Regions from separate parts of the Homo sapiens genome. Here regions 2, 3 and 4 are each linked to region 1. Evidence: promoter capture Hi-C in human tissues and cell types (Jung and others, 2019). All regions are on one chromosome and are shown on one strand. Each heading gives the region's core, a stretch centred on a gene start or on the middle of the fragment in contact. The rest is flanking DNA. Distances are from core to core; before and after follow the strand shown.

Evidence for each region. Contacts are between HindIII fragments. The study calls those that stand out against the background at their distance.
Region 2: a fragment that was not itself captured here is called in contact with the fragment with the promoter of RPL7L1 in region 1 in 1 of the 25 tissues and cell types used here (liver).
Region 3: a fragment that was not itself captured here is called in contact with the fragment with the promoter of RPL7L1 in region 1 in 2 of the 25 tissues and cell types used here (aorta and spleen).
Region 4: a fragment that was not itself captured here is called in contact with the fragment with the promoter of RPL7L1 in region 1 in 2 of the 25 tissues and cell types used here (mesendoderm cells and small bowel).

What each region holds. Positions count from the first base shown.
Region 1 is chr6:42,878,048-42,881,304 of GRCh38, reverse strand. RPL7L1 (ribosomal protein L7 like 1) reads right to left here and starts at 1,689. Exons shown (of 6, transcript NM_001366481.3): 1 at 1,354-1,689; 2 at 339-444. The coding sequence starts at 1,394. RefSeq lists enhancers at 1,428-1,487, 763-1,719, 1,508-1,977, 1,720-2,677. The HindIII fragment of the contact is 12,927 bases long and covers 1-3,257 here.
Region 2 is chr6:43,313,266-43,316,522 of GRCh38, reverse strand. No RefSeq gene overlaps it. Among named protein-coding and RNA genes, the nearest start is that of CRIP3, 6.1 kb to the right of the region's middle. The HindIII fragment of the contact is 4,386 bases long and covers 1-3,257 here.
Region 3 is chr6:43,216,801-43,220,057 of GRCh38, reverse strand. All of the region lies in intron 31 of CUL9 (cullin 9), which reads right to left. Among named protein-coding and RNA genes, the nearest start is that of DNPH1, 11 kb to the left of the region's middle. The HindIII fragment of the contact is 8,126 bases long and covers 1-3,257 here.
Region 4 is chr6:42,553,107-42,556,363 of GRCh38, reverse strand. No RefSeq gene overlaps it. Among named protein-coding and RNA genes, the nearest start is that of UBR2, 9.3 kb to the left of the region's middle. The HindIII fragment of the contact is 6,616 bases long and covers 1-3,257 here.

The sequences.
Region 1 (3,257 bases), core at 440-2,939:
TTTAGTAGAGACGGGGTTTCACCGTGTTAGCCAGGATGGTCTCGATCTCCTGACCTCGTGATACGCCCGCCTCGGCCTCCCAAAGTGCAGGGATTACAGGCGTGAGCCACCGCGCCCGGCCTACTACAACCATTTTATATAAGGGACTTCAGCAGTCTGAGATTTAGGCATCTGTGGGAGTCCTGGAACCAACCCCTTAAGGACACTGAGAGACAACTATACCTGGTCTGTCAAACCGTTGGGGGGAGCTCGTCAATACCAAATGTAGTCCAACACATGCGGGATAAAACTCACCAAATAAAAATTCTAATTACTTTCTCTTGGTTCCCCACCATTACCTCCTTCTTTGCCAAAAGTGCCTGCTTTGCCTGGGTGGCTTTGAGGGCTTGATAAGCCTTCCTCTTTTTCAGGAGATTTTCTGGAACCAAAGGGATTTTTCTTTGCCTGATGCAGAAAATTGAGATCAGAGATAACATTTAGAAAAGAACACTTGGCCGGGCTCGGTGGCTCAAGCCTGTAATCCCAGCACTCTGGGAGGCCGAGGTGGGTGGATTACCTGAGGTCAGGAGTTCGAGACCAGCCTGACCAACATGGTGAAACCCCCGTTTCTACTAAAAATAAAAAATCAGCTGGGCGTGGTGGCGCACGCCTGTAATCCCAGCTACTCGGGAGACTGAGGCAGGAGAATCGCTTGAACCCGGGAGGCGGAGGTTGCACCGAGCCGAGATCCCGACACTGCGCTCCAGCCTGGGGGACAGAGCAAGACTCCGTCTCAAAACAAAAACAACAACAAAAAAGAAAACGAACATTCAATGGATTTCCAAACCAATTCAATATCCTGGGCTTTAGGGAACATTACTGTTTTCAAGTATCTGAAGAAAGATTCCCCTGAAACCTGCGGTTTCTGACTCCAGGCCTCATAAATCCATCCCTAATAGTCACTCATCCCCAAAGCCTCGGAAAATAATGAATCCTTTAGCCTCTGGGTTCGTATAAGTTAACAGGGTTTTCACGGCCACAGTTCTTCATAGGCACTAGCAGCGACGAATCTATGGGGTTGGGGCGGGGGCAGGCCTATCTGCAGAGTTAACACTTGTCGGGCTGGGTGAATTCAACTGTGGCACTCCAGCCCGCTGCCTGAAGTCAATCCTCGCCTCTCCAGATAACCCGAACTTGACCGCGGTCCCCTCCCTCCTCCGCCACAGCGCTACTCCTCCTCACCCCCACCCTTTGTAAACTGTGGCCTTTTCTATTCCTAGAGCCCACAGGAATCCGCCACCAAGGCATAAACACCGTGGATGGCACCGGATACTCAAGACCCCACTCCAGATATTCAAAGCCCCAAACACTCACTCTTGCTCCGCCATCTTTCTAGTGGTGCAGCTACTGATCATGCGCAACCCCACCACATGGGGAAGACAGCACACGCTCTGTTTACTTGACCATAGAGACGTCTGTTCTAGCTCACGCTGGAGGACCAGTCAGCGTTCACTTAGCCGCAGTGAGCCCTTGAGGTCCCGCTAACCCCGATTCCTGCCAAAAGTTGCACCGCTTCTTAGGGTTTTTAGAGCCTGTGTTATTTTCAAAACCCAGCCCTTTTCTTGTAAGTTACAGTTTCATCACAAGCGGCCTGGCTGTGGACAGCAAAGTGCTTCCCACAATGCACCTATGGCGTCCGCTCCTAGCTACGGCGCCGCACTTCCGGCGCGGCTGTGCTGCGTCTCTGGGGAGGAAGACAGGCAAACTCCGCGAAACATTTTCGCTCTGTGGAAAAACTTGGAGGCTATGGCTTTGGCTCTCACGTGTAGGTGGAAGTGTTTGTTGAGGACTTAGAGTGGTAAAGCAGGTAGCTGCAATTCCGTCTGCTTGGCCCCGTCGATGCGTCCTTGAACACGTTATTTAACCCCTCTATACTGCGGCTTCATTACCCATAAAATGGGTGTACAGTAATAATAGGTCTACCTAATGGCGTTACGAGGATTACAGGAGATTAGATAAAGCGTTTAGCAGTGTCTGTCAGCACTATGTTTGTTACTATTACTGCTGGACCGAAAACTACAACATGCTTCCTTCCCGTCTAAAACCGTTACACAGGCCGGGCGCGGTGGCTCACGCCTGTAATCCCAGCACTTTGGGAGGGAGGCCGAGACGGGAGGATCACCTGAGGTCAGGAGTTCGAGATCAGCCTGGCCAACACGGCGAAACCCCGTCTTGGGCGGAGGTTACAGTGAGCCGAGATCGCGCCACTGCCCACCAGCCTGGGCGACAGAGCAAGACTCCGTCTCAAAAAAACAAAAAGAAAAGAAAAGAAAAAAAAAGAATAAAAATAAAACCCTTATGCAGCTCTCATCGCCCGGAATTTGCGTTCTTCCCTCCCAGTCTATATAGAATCCTGAAAAACAGTAGGTCGGGCCGGTGGCTTTCACCTGTAATCCCAGCACTTTGGGAGGCCAAGGCAGGTGGATCACTTGAGGTCAGGAGTTGGAGACCAGCATGGCTAAGATGGTGAAACCCCGTCTCTACTAAAAATACAAAAAATTAGCTGGGCGTGGTGGCTCGCGCCTGAAGTCCCAGAAGGCGGAGGCTGCGTGAGCCGAGTTTGTGCCACTTGCACTCCAGCCTGGGCGACAGAGCGAGACAGTCTCAAAAAAAACAAGAAATAAATTTTTTTTAAAATTAAAAATCCTGAAAAACAACACAAGTCTTATCATCTCTGGAAACCTCCAGAGCAGCGCTTCTCAAGCATTAATAGTGAATAGGAGTCACCTGAAGATTTTACTAAAATACAGATTTTTATTCAGGAGGCCGGGTGGGGAGCTGATATTCTGCTTTTTTTTTTTTTTTTTTTTTGAGATGGCGTCTCGCTCTGTCGCCCAGGCTGGAGTGCAGTGGCGCGATCTTGGCTCACTGCAAGCTCCGCCTCCCGGGTTCACGCCATTCTCCTGCCTCAGCCTCCCGAGTAGCTGGGACTACAGGCGCCCGCCACCACGCCTGGCTAATTTTTTGAATTTTTAGTAGAGATTTCACCTTGTTAGCCAGGATGGTCTCGATCTCCTGACCTCGTGATCCGCCCGCCTCGGCCTCCCAAAGTGCTGGGATTACAGGCGTGAGCCACCGCACCTGGCCAATATTCTGCATTTTTAACAGGCTTCAGAGTGACGCTGGTGCTACTGGTCTATGGGCTGACTAGTAAGACTCTAGAGTAGTGTCTGATTTCCCTCAGGACATTATTATATTTTTAATATTTCTTCCACATG
Region 2 (3,257 bases), core at 292-2,791, 440 kb before region 1:
ATTAGCGAGGTACAGTGGCACATGGCTGTAGTCCTAGCTACTTAGGAGACTGATGGGGGGATTGCTTGAGCCCAGGAGTTCCAGGTTACAGTGAGCTGTGACCTGTACTCCAGCCTGGGTGACAGAGCAAGATCCTGTCTCTTGAAGGAAAAAAGGAAACAAATTCCTGAGACCTTATTCCTAGGCAGCTGAACTTCCTTCACTCCAGGACACTCGTTGTTACCAACTCTCAACCTCTACCAGTCCCCTCTTATTCCCACATCTCTCACTAGCACTCATCTATCACACTCAGGGGGACTTGTATATAACATGTAACATTCATTCACCAGCAAGTATTTGTTGAGCACTATGTGCCAGAGATTTGAGCAAGGCACTGGAAATATATGCAATGGTTGGCAAAGCAGCCTGGTCCCTGCTCTCATGGATCTCACAGACTAAGGGGGCAGACAAAGCCCAGATTGGAGTGGAGGAGGTAGGCAGGAAGTTACCATATTTATTTCACTTTCTAAACTACAACCTGTCCTTTATCAATAATAAAGATGATGGGCTGGGTGGTGGCTCATGTCTGTAATCCCAGCACTTTGAGAGGCCAAGGTGAGTGGATCACTTGAAGTCAAAAGTCCAAGACCAGCCTGGCCAACATGGTGAAACCTTGTCTCTACTAAAAATACAAAAATTAGCCGGGCATGGTGGCACACTCCTGTAATCCCAGCTACTAGGGAGGCTGGGGCAGGAGAATTACTTGAACCTGGGAGGCAGAGATTGCAGTGAGCTGAGATCATGCCACTGCACTCCAGCCTGGGCAACAGAATGAGACTGTCTCAAAATAGTAATAATAATAATAATAAAGGATCTCTGTTTGTCTTTTATTTCTTATTTGGTTCAGCACTCAGGGAAAACACAGCTGTCATAGTTTGGGCCCCCTCTACCCTCCAGGAGAGGATGGTGGTATAGAAACAGTGCTTGGGGTCAATAACCTGGTGTGGAGTAGTTGAGGGGGAGCTGAGGTTAGGTAGGAATTGATGAGGTGAAGATACTGGGGAAGTGAATTCTCAGAAAAGATGGCCTTTGCAAAAGCCCTGAGGCAGAATAGAACTTAACAGATTCAAGAAGCTCATTTGATGTGGATGGAGGGGTCGATGCAACAGGAGAAATGGCTAGAAGACTGGAAAAGTGGAGGGTCCTGTCTTGAGGATACTGAGAAATCATGGAAAGGTTTTAATGACATTTCCCTGCCCCTTGCATCTCAACCCATTATTTTCCTGGATAGGCCCTCTTATCTTCAGGTATGGAGGTGCTGTGCAGACAAGTGTAGTGTCTTTTCAGGTTGAAACACATGGGCAAAAACCATGCTTAGGGGGGTATAGAGTGGAAAGAGTATGGGCTCAAGAGTCAGAATGCTTGGGTCTGTATGATGTTTTACACATTTCTTTTTTTCTTTTTCTTTGAGACTGAGTCTTGCTCTGTCGTCCAGGCTGGACTGCAGTGGTGCGATCTCGGCTCACTGCAACCTCCACCTCCCAGGTTCAAGCAATTCTCATGCCTCAGCCTCCTGAGTAGCTGGGATTACAGGCACCTGCCACCACGCCCAGCTAAGTTTTTTGTATTTTAAGTAGAGACGGGGTTTCACCATGGTGGACAGTCTGGTCTCGAACTCCTAACCTCAGGTGATCCTCCCACTTCGGCCTCCCAAAGTGCTGGGATTACAGGCATGAGCCACCGCACCTGGCCAAATGTTTTACTAATTTCGTAACCTTACCAAGCCACTTTCTTTTTTATACAATTGGGAATGTAACATTTCTACCCTTCATCAGCTCTAGTAATGCCCTCTTTCTAACACAAGTTTCAAGCTCCTTTTTGGGAAAGGAATCACAGAATCATAATTGTTAAATCATGAAGAGGCTTTAAAGTTCTATCTGCATATGATATTTGGATACCTTCTGCAACACTGAGGATCAGTTGGTTTATTGTCCAGTATTGTGTCCAGAAACAGGAAGCTCACCACTGTCTGAAGCAGCCACTCTATATTGGGGCTCTATTAAAAGGGTTTTGGAGGGGACCTAATCCAAATCTGCTTCCCTGTGTTCTCTCTCCAGGGGTCTTGGTAGTACCCCTAATGCCTTTTCCATGTGACAGCCCTCCAGGGACTAGAAGTCACTATCTCTACGGGACCACTTACTCACCTAGAATGGAAAAGCTTGTTTCTTCAGCTTTTCTAACAACACTAATCAAACGGTTAATTCCTCGAGCAAACACAATCCTGAAACATTTATGTACCTAATAATAGAGCTTAAAAACATGAAGTAAAGTTAGTGGGAGAGTTTAATAATAATAGCTATCATTTACTGATTACCTATACTGCACTCACTGTTAAAGATACACAGATAATTCTCCATCAGTTCTGTCAAAGTCAAACAAGTAAACAAGTGTCATACAATGTTACAGATACTGTAACAGAGGTCTGTGCAGGAAAAAGGCAGGGCGGGCACTAAGGGAACAGTGGTCTTTGTGAGAAAGAGGCCTGCCTCTAATGGGAGATGACACAAACTGCACCTTAACAATTGAGTAATACCTTCTTTGAGGTGGACTTACCCATCTGTAGTATTTATTAAAATATCATTTTAGAGACTTTAGTCACACCAACTGTTCTTCAAAACATCCACTGTCAGTAACTCAAATGCATTCCTACAAGAAATGTGTTTTCCCAGTTATTCTTTACATAGCTTCTGTTCGAGTCAATAATGGAAACCAGGCAAAGAAGAAAAGTGGACTACTGTAATTTGCTGTACCTGCAAATGCATAGTGCAAGTGTTTGGAAGGGTGGAGCCTCAACTAGTCTTTCCTAAGCACTGAAATAGAAGAGCCGAAGCATATTGTGAGATTAGGCCATACAATAAAGGCCCTACAAGATGTGGGGAGCAGTAAAGCATTTGCGCCACTGACTGATTGCAAGCTATGTGAAAGCAACATGGGACTCACACCGCAAGGTTTGTTCCTTTGTGTTGGGCCCTGTGCTAGATGCTGGGGTAAAGATGACCTGCCCAGGCAGATGAGGCAAGCACACAAGGTAATCCAAGACAGAAAGTGCTAGAGAACCTTGGAAAAGGATTATTTGATGTGTCCTGGAAGTTCTGAGAACCTGGGAAGATGAAATTAGCCTTCCTTGAGGAGGCAGCATATCTAAGAATAAACATACCAATGCAGTCCTCCCAACCTCCTGAAGTGGGTACTTCTCTCTGAGAGCCATAGGGAGCAAA
Region 3 (3,257 bases), core at 391-2,890, 340 kb before region 1:
CCCAGCTCCAGTGGCTTATCTCCAATGACCGTCCGGATGCTCCTGTCTCTGACTTATGCCTCCAACAGACCCAGCCTCTTCTCTACAAAACTGACTTGCCCATTGCGTCCCCCAAACCCTGATCAACTTGCACCACTGTCCCCCTCGTCACCAGTGTTGGAACTTTCATATCGTTCTCTTGCTCCCATGTCACTCCCCCATCCTAAATCAGGCCATTATCCCCTCATCCCTAAACCACTGTGAGAGCCTGATCCATGGTCTCCTCTCCCGGTCTCTCCCTACACCATCCATTTGGTCTATGCACGAGCAGCCGTTGCAGCCGTCTGAGCCTCCTACAATACTCCATGAGTGACCCCTGCCTCTCACACTGCCTATGGCCATGCCTTCCAAAATGATGGGTCTAAACCCTCAGGAGACCGTGTGTCTGTGATATCAAAGCTGCAGCATAAATTTGAAGCACCTGACTAGGTCATTTTTACTCAAAGTACCAGACCAAAGTAAACAAAACCCTTTCTGCATTGAAACAAACCCAAAGTTGGGAAATTGAATGCAAATTCTTACATTTTTGAGATAGAACAGGGAAAATTTTCTCTGAATTCAGACCCTATTCTTACAGGCACACCAGTGCCTCAGGGTCCCCCTCTGCCCTGGCATCTCAGTCTGGGGACTCCCAGCTGCTCTCATGACTACTGTCCAACCCAAGTGGTGGGGCTCACCCTGGGAGCTGTCCGGCTGCTTCTCTTGCATTGCTGTTGTGCCACTCAGCTGTGACCAATGCTGCACAGGCTCCTCCTTGCAGGGGCTTTTCAATCAGCCTGTTCATCTGCCTGGTTTTCAGGCCCCTTGTCTCTCTCTCTCTCTCTCTCTTTTAAACAAAGTCTCGCTTTGTCACCCACACTGGAGGGTAATGGCACAATCATGGTTCACCGCAGCCTCAATCTCCTGGACTCAAGCAATCCTCCCACCTCAACCTCCTGAGTAGGCAGGACTATAGGTGTGCACCACCATGCCTGGGTAAAGTTTTTTTCTATTTTTTGTAGCTATGGGGTCTTGCTGTGTTGTCTAGGCTGGTCTCAAACTCCTGAGACCCCCCGTCTCTGTATCTTTACAGGCTTGGTTCCCTGGGTCTGCTTCTTTCTCCTTGGGTAAGGCCTGCCAGGCCTCTCTGCTTCATTCCAAATTCAAAAATCCACTGTCTACCTGCCAGTTCCACACAGGTGTCCAACAAGCAGCTCAAACTTCACAGGGCCACAACAGAGTAAAGATGACACATGCCATCCACCCAGGTGCTCAGGTCAAAGCACAGGAACCATCCTTGATTCCCCTGTCTGAAGCCCCTACATTTAACCCACCAACTCCCGTCAGCTCCACTTCCAAATGTGTCCCAATCCACCCTCTCTCATCGCCACTGCCCCAGTCCAAACTACCACCATCTCTTGTCTCTCGTACAACAGTCACCAAATGGGCCTTCCTGCTTCCACTCTTGCTCCCTCCAAGCCTTTTCTCCACACAACGGCAGAAGCGATCTTTTAAAAAATGTAGGGCCGGGCGCAGTGGCTCACGCCTGTAATTCCAGCACTTTGGGAGGCTGAGGTGGGTGGATCACGAGGTCAGGAGATCGAGACCATCCTGGCTAACACAGTGAAACCCCGTCTCTACTAAAAATGCAAAAAATTAGCCGGGCGCGGTGGCGGGCGCCTATAGTCCCAGCTACTCGGGAGGCTGAGGCAGAAGAATCGCTTGAACCCGGGAGATGGAGGTTGCAATGAGCCGAGATCGCGCCACTGCACTGCAGCCTGGGTGACAGAGTGAGACTCCATCTCAAAAAATAATAATAATAAAATAAAAATAAATAAATAATATAATAAAAATAAAAAATGTAAACCAGATAATATCAATATTCTGCTTAAACCCACCATGGCTTCTCATAAAATAAAATCCACTGTCAGGCTGGGTGTGGTGGCTTATGCCTATAATTCCAGCACTTTGGGAGGTCAAGGCGGGAGGATTGCCTGAGACTGCCAAAATTCAAATCCTGACCTTTGGCAAATTACTTCACCTCTGAGTGTCTCCCTCTGTCATGTAAAATGGGAATAACAAAAATACCTACCTCATAGAACTAGTATGAGAATTAAGTAAAATAATGCATGTAAACAGCACAATGCCTGGCTCAGAGTGAGCTCCCATCAATATTATTAGCTCTCTGGTCATTTCTTGCTGGGATTTTTTTCAATACCTCATTTAGCACCCAGTGCTATGCACATAAATCCATGAGAAATATTTGTTGAATGAAAAAATGAAAGTGTAAAGGAAATAATTAAGAACCTGGGGAAAAGGGAGCATAAGCAACTATGTGAGAGGAGAAGCCAGAAGCACAGCCAAAGGGAAAGAGAAAAAGAGAATACACACGCATGCACGTGCACACAAGCACATGCAGACACGTCTATCACCCACTACTGGGGAAACGCTGTTGGCAGAAGCAGCTGGAATTCATGGCAACCAGGAGTGCCCCTCCTGCTAAACTGAAGTGTTTGGGCTTGGCACCAGTTCTAAAGAGCTGTGAGGCAGGAATATCGGACTCAGTGCTCCAGGTTCTCTGTACCTCAGCCCCACATTTTTTATTTTTGAAGATGACTCACTCCCCAAATGCAAGCTTCTGTGTCCACTATATAGAAGCAAGCCTATAGAGCAAGAAGACCCTGAGGCAGGGTCTCACTCTGTCCTTCAGGCTGAAGTGCAGTGGCGAGATACTGGCTCACTGCAGCCTCCGCCTCCCAGGCTCAGGTGATCCTCCCACTTCAGCCTCCCAAGTAGCTGGGACTATAGGTGTGCACCACCATGCCCATCTTATTTTTGTATTTTTTTGTAGAGACGGGGTCTTGCCATGTTGCCCAGGCTGGTCTCGAACTCCTGGGCTCAAGCAATCTGCCTACATCAGCCTCCCAAAGTGCTGGGATTATAGGCATGCACACTACCTCACCAGGCCTATTTTTAAAAATTTTTGTATTAAATGAGAGTATATGATAAAAGCAGTGATAGTGCACTGAGATGTGGGGACTTAAATGGTAATAAGGGCAACCACAAACTAGAGTCATCACCAATCTACTAACACTTTTGCAAACACTTCACAAAGTGTCTTGACATCTATTTTACACGTATATCTCTTAGTTCTAACTTGGCTGATAATGGGAATCCCGTGAGGAGGCTTTAAAACTTCCTGTAGATTTCTCACCTCCAGAGATTCTGGTTTAATTAGT
Region 4 (3,257 bases), core at 264-2,763, 320 kb after region 1:
TACCGGTAGAGAGTGTCTGGGTTCTTGGTGCTTTGAACAAAGAATTGGACAAAATACACAAAGCAAGAATGAAGCAACAAAAACAGATTTATTGAAACAAAAAATCACACTCCATAGGGTGGGAGCAGCTAGAGCAAGCAGCTGAAGGGCTTGGTTACAGAATTTTCTGGGGTTTAAATACCCTCTGGAGGTTTCCCATTGGTTACTTGGTATACACCCTAGGTAAATGCAACCAGAGACTGAAGTTGCCAAGTTACACCCTATGCAAATGTCTGATTGGTTGCGAAAAGTGACCAATCAGAGGCTGAAGTTACAAAGTTATACTTCTATGCAAATGAAGACTTGGCCCTTGACCAGCCTGATTGGTTCCAGGAGGGGACCAATCAGAGGTACTTTCAGTTTTTCATCTGCCAGGCAGAAAACAGGGTGGGGTAGCAGGGAGGAGAGGCTTGCAAAGGGAGTAGCCTCTGATCATTTGTTACTTGGGTGTGGAAAGTTGGGGTTCACCCAGGCTGGAGTACAGTGGTACCATCTCAGCTCACTGCAACTGCGGTTTTCCTTTTGATTTAGTTCTAGGAAGTCAGTGTGAATCTGCCTTAGGTTCTCTACCTCCAAACCCTATTCTCCTGCCTCAGAGGCAGGTGAGAGAGGCCAGGGAGACCAGGAGCACTGGCCTAAATTGCTGACCTGCAGAATTGTAATCTAAATAAATGCTTGTTGTTTTAAGCCACTAAACTTTGAGGTGATTTTGTATGTACCAGTAGCTAATCAATTCAGTTGCATTGTTAGATCAGCAGCTCAACTGGCATTTGAAATCTGGTCTCACCAACTCCAAGGCTCATGTTCGTCCCAAGACAGGCTGTTCCCCCTACAGGCCTACTTCTAGGCAAATTATTTATTTCCTAATTAAAATAACCAAGCTTGTGTATGTTAGGCCAAAACCCAGTCTCCCTTCTTCTGGACTGGTCCTAAACTAATTAGTTGGGTTTCTCTTCTCCTGTCCTTCCTTCCTTCTCTCTCTCTCTCTCTCTCTTCCAGCTTGCTCTGTTGCCCAGGCTAGAGTGCTGTGGTGCAATCTTGGCTCACTGCAACCTCTACCTCCTGGGTTCAAGCAATTCTTTGGCCCCAAGCCACCCAAGTATCTGAGATTACAGGCGTCCACGACCATGCATGCTAAATTTTTGTATTTTTAGTAGAGACAGGGTTTCATGATGTTGGCCAGGATGGTCTTGATCTCCTGACCTCCAGCAATCCACTGCCTTGGCCTCCCAAAGTGTTGGGACTAGAGGCATGAGCCACCCTGTCTAGCCGGGTTTATCTTAAAGGCCATGGGTAAAAGATTGAGAACTTTCATGTCCTGGAATTCTTTCAAAACATTGGACATAGATCTATCTCAGGAGTGTCACACTGTGTCCAGAATTGGTGGGTTCTCGGTCTCACTGACTTCAAGAATGAAGCCTCAAACCCTTGCAGTGAGTGTTACAGTTCTTAAAGGTGGTGTGTCCAGAGTTTGTTCCTTCAGATGTGTCTGAAGTTTCTTCCTTCTGGCAGGTTCGTGATCTCGCTAGCTTCATGAGCGAAGCTGCAGACCTTCACAGTGAGTGTTACAGCTCTCAAAAGCAGCACAGACCCAAAGACGGAGCAGCACCAACATTTATTGCAAAGAGCAAAAGAACAAAGCACCCCCGCCACACAGAAGAGTACCTGATCAGGTTGCTGCTGCTGGCATTGGTGGCCTGCGTTTATTCCCTTATCTGGCCCCACCCACATCCTGCTGATTGGTCCATTTTGCAGAGAGCTGATTGGTCCATTTTACAGAGAGCTGATTGGTCCGTTTTGACAGAGTGCTGATTGGTGCGTTTACAAACCTTTAGCTAGACAGAGAGTGCTGATTGGTGCGTTTACAATCCTTTAGCTAGACAGAAAAGTTCTCCCAGTCCCCAATATCCCAGAAGCCTAGCCGGCTTCACTTGTCACTGGCACTGGCTGCGGGATTTTGGGGCACCTAGCCGGGCACTCCGGCAGCCCAGAGGGAGCTCGTCCCCCAGTCAAGCCCAGCAGGCGCCGGCCCGCCGCGCAGAGTGCGGGACTTGCGGAGCCCGCGCGCAGCCCCAGCTCCCGCCGGCGCCTCTCTTTTCACACTTCCCAGTGAGCAGAGGGAGCCGGCTCCGGCCTCGGCCAGCCCCAGAGAGGGGCCCTCACAGCGCAGCGGCGGGCTGAAGGGCTCCTCGAGCGCGGCCAGAGCGGACGCAGAGGCCGAGGAGGCGCCGAGAGCCAGCGAGGGCTGCTAGCAGGTTGTCACCTCTCAACACCAAGATAGTTGTATCCGTGGTTAAACTCTGTAGGCATACACTCTGCTTTTCTTGGGGACAAGGTTACCCGCCTCCCACTTTTACAGGGACATTGGCTTTGGTGACAGCCAATTGCAACTTTTTTCTTCTCATTGGGAAGTACTGAGAGTGGGTTTCCTTTAGTCTCTAGTGGGAATATTATAAAGCGCTGGTATACAAAGAGCCCTCAGACAATAAAAAAGTTAACAAAATACATTATATAAATAAATATAAACTAAAAAGATTCTGAAGAACATTTTATGTTTTCTGTACCTGTTGTTGCTGATATAAATTATCTCCTGGGACTGAACTTCGAATTGTCAATTGTCTAAATCTCCCATTGTACTGAGACACATCCAGTGGTCTATAAATTTTATCTTGGGCTGGGCGTGGTGGCTCATGCCTGTAATCCCAGCACTCTGGGAGGCCAAGGCCGGAGGATTTCTTGAGGCCAGGAGTTCGAGACCAGCCTGGGCAATATAGTGACACCTTGTCTCTACAGAAACCTTAAAAAATTAGCGGAGCATGGTGGTGTACACCTGTGGTCCCAGCTACTCGGGAGACTTAGGTGGGAGGATCACTTGAGCCTGGGAGGCAGAGGTTGCAAGAGCTGAGATTGCTCCACTGCACTCCAGTCTGAGTGATGGAGCGAGACCTTGTCTCAAAAAAAAAATTTTTTTAAATCTTTTCTTTCCTTCCTTCCTTCCTTCCTTCCTTCCTTCCTTCCTTCCTTCCTTCCTTCGTTTTTTCTTTTTTTTAAACAGTCTTGCTCTGTCACCCAGGCTGTAGTGCAATGGTGCCATCTCGACTCACTGCAACCTCCGCCTCCCGAGTTCAAGCAGTTCTTGTGCCTCAGCCTCCCCAGTAGCTGGGATTACAGGCATGAGCCACCGTGCCCGGCCATTTTTTCCCCCCAGTCTTGTAGAG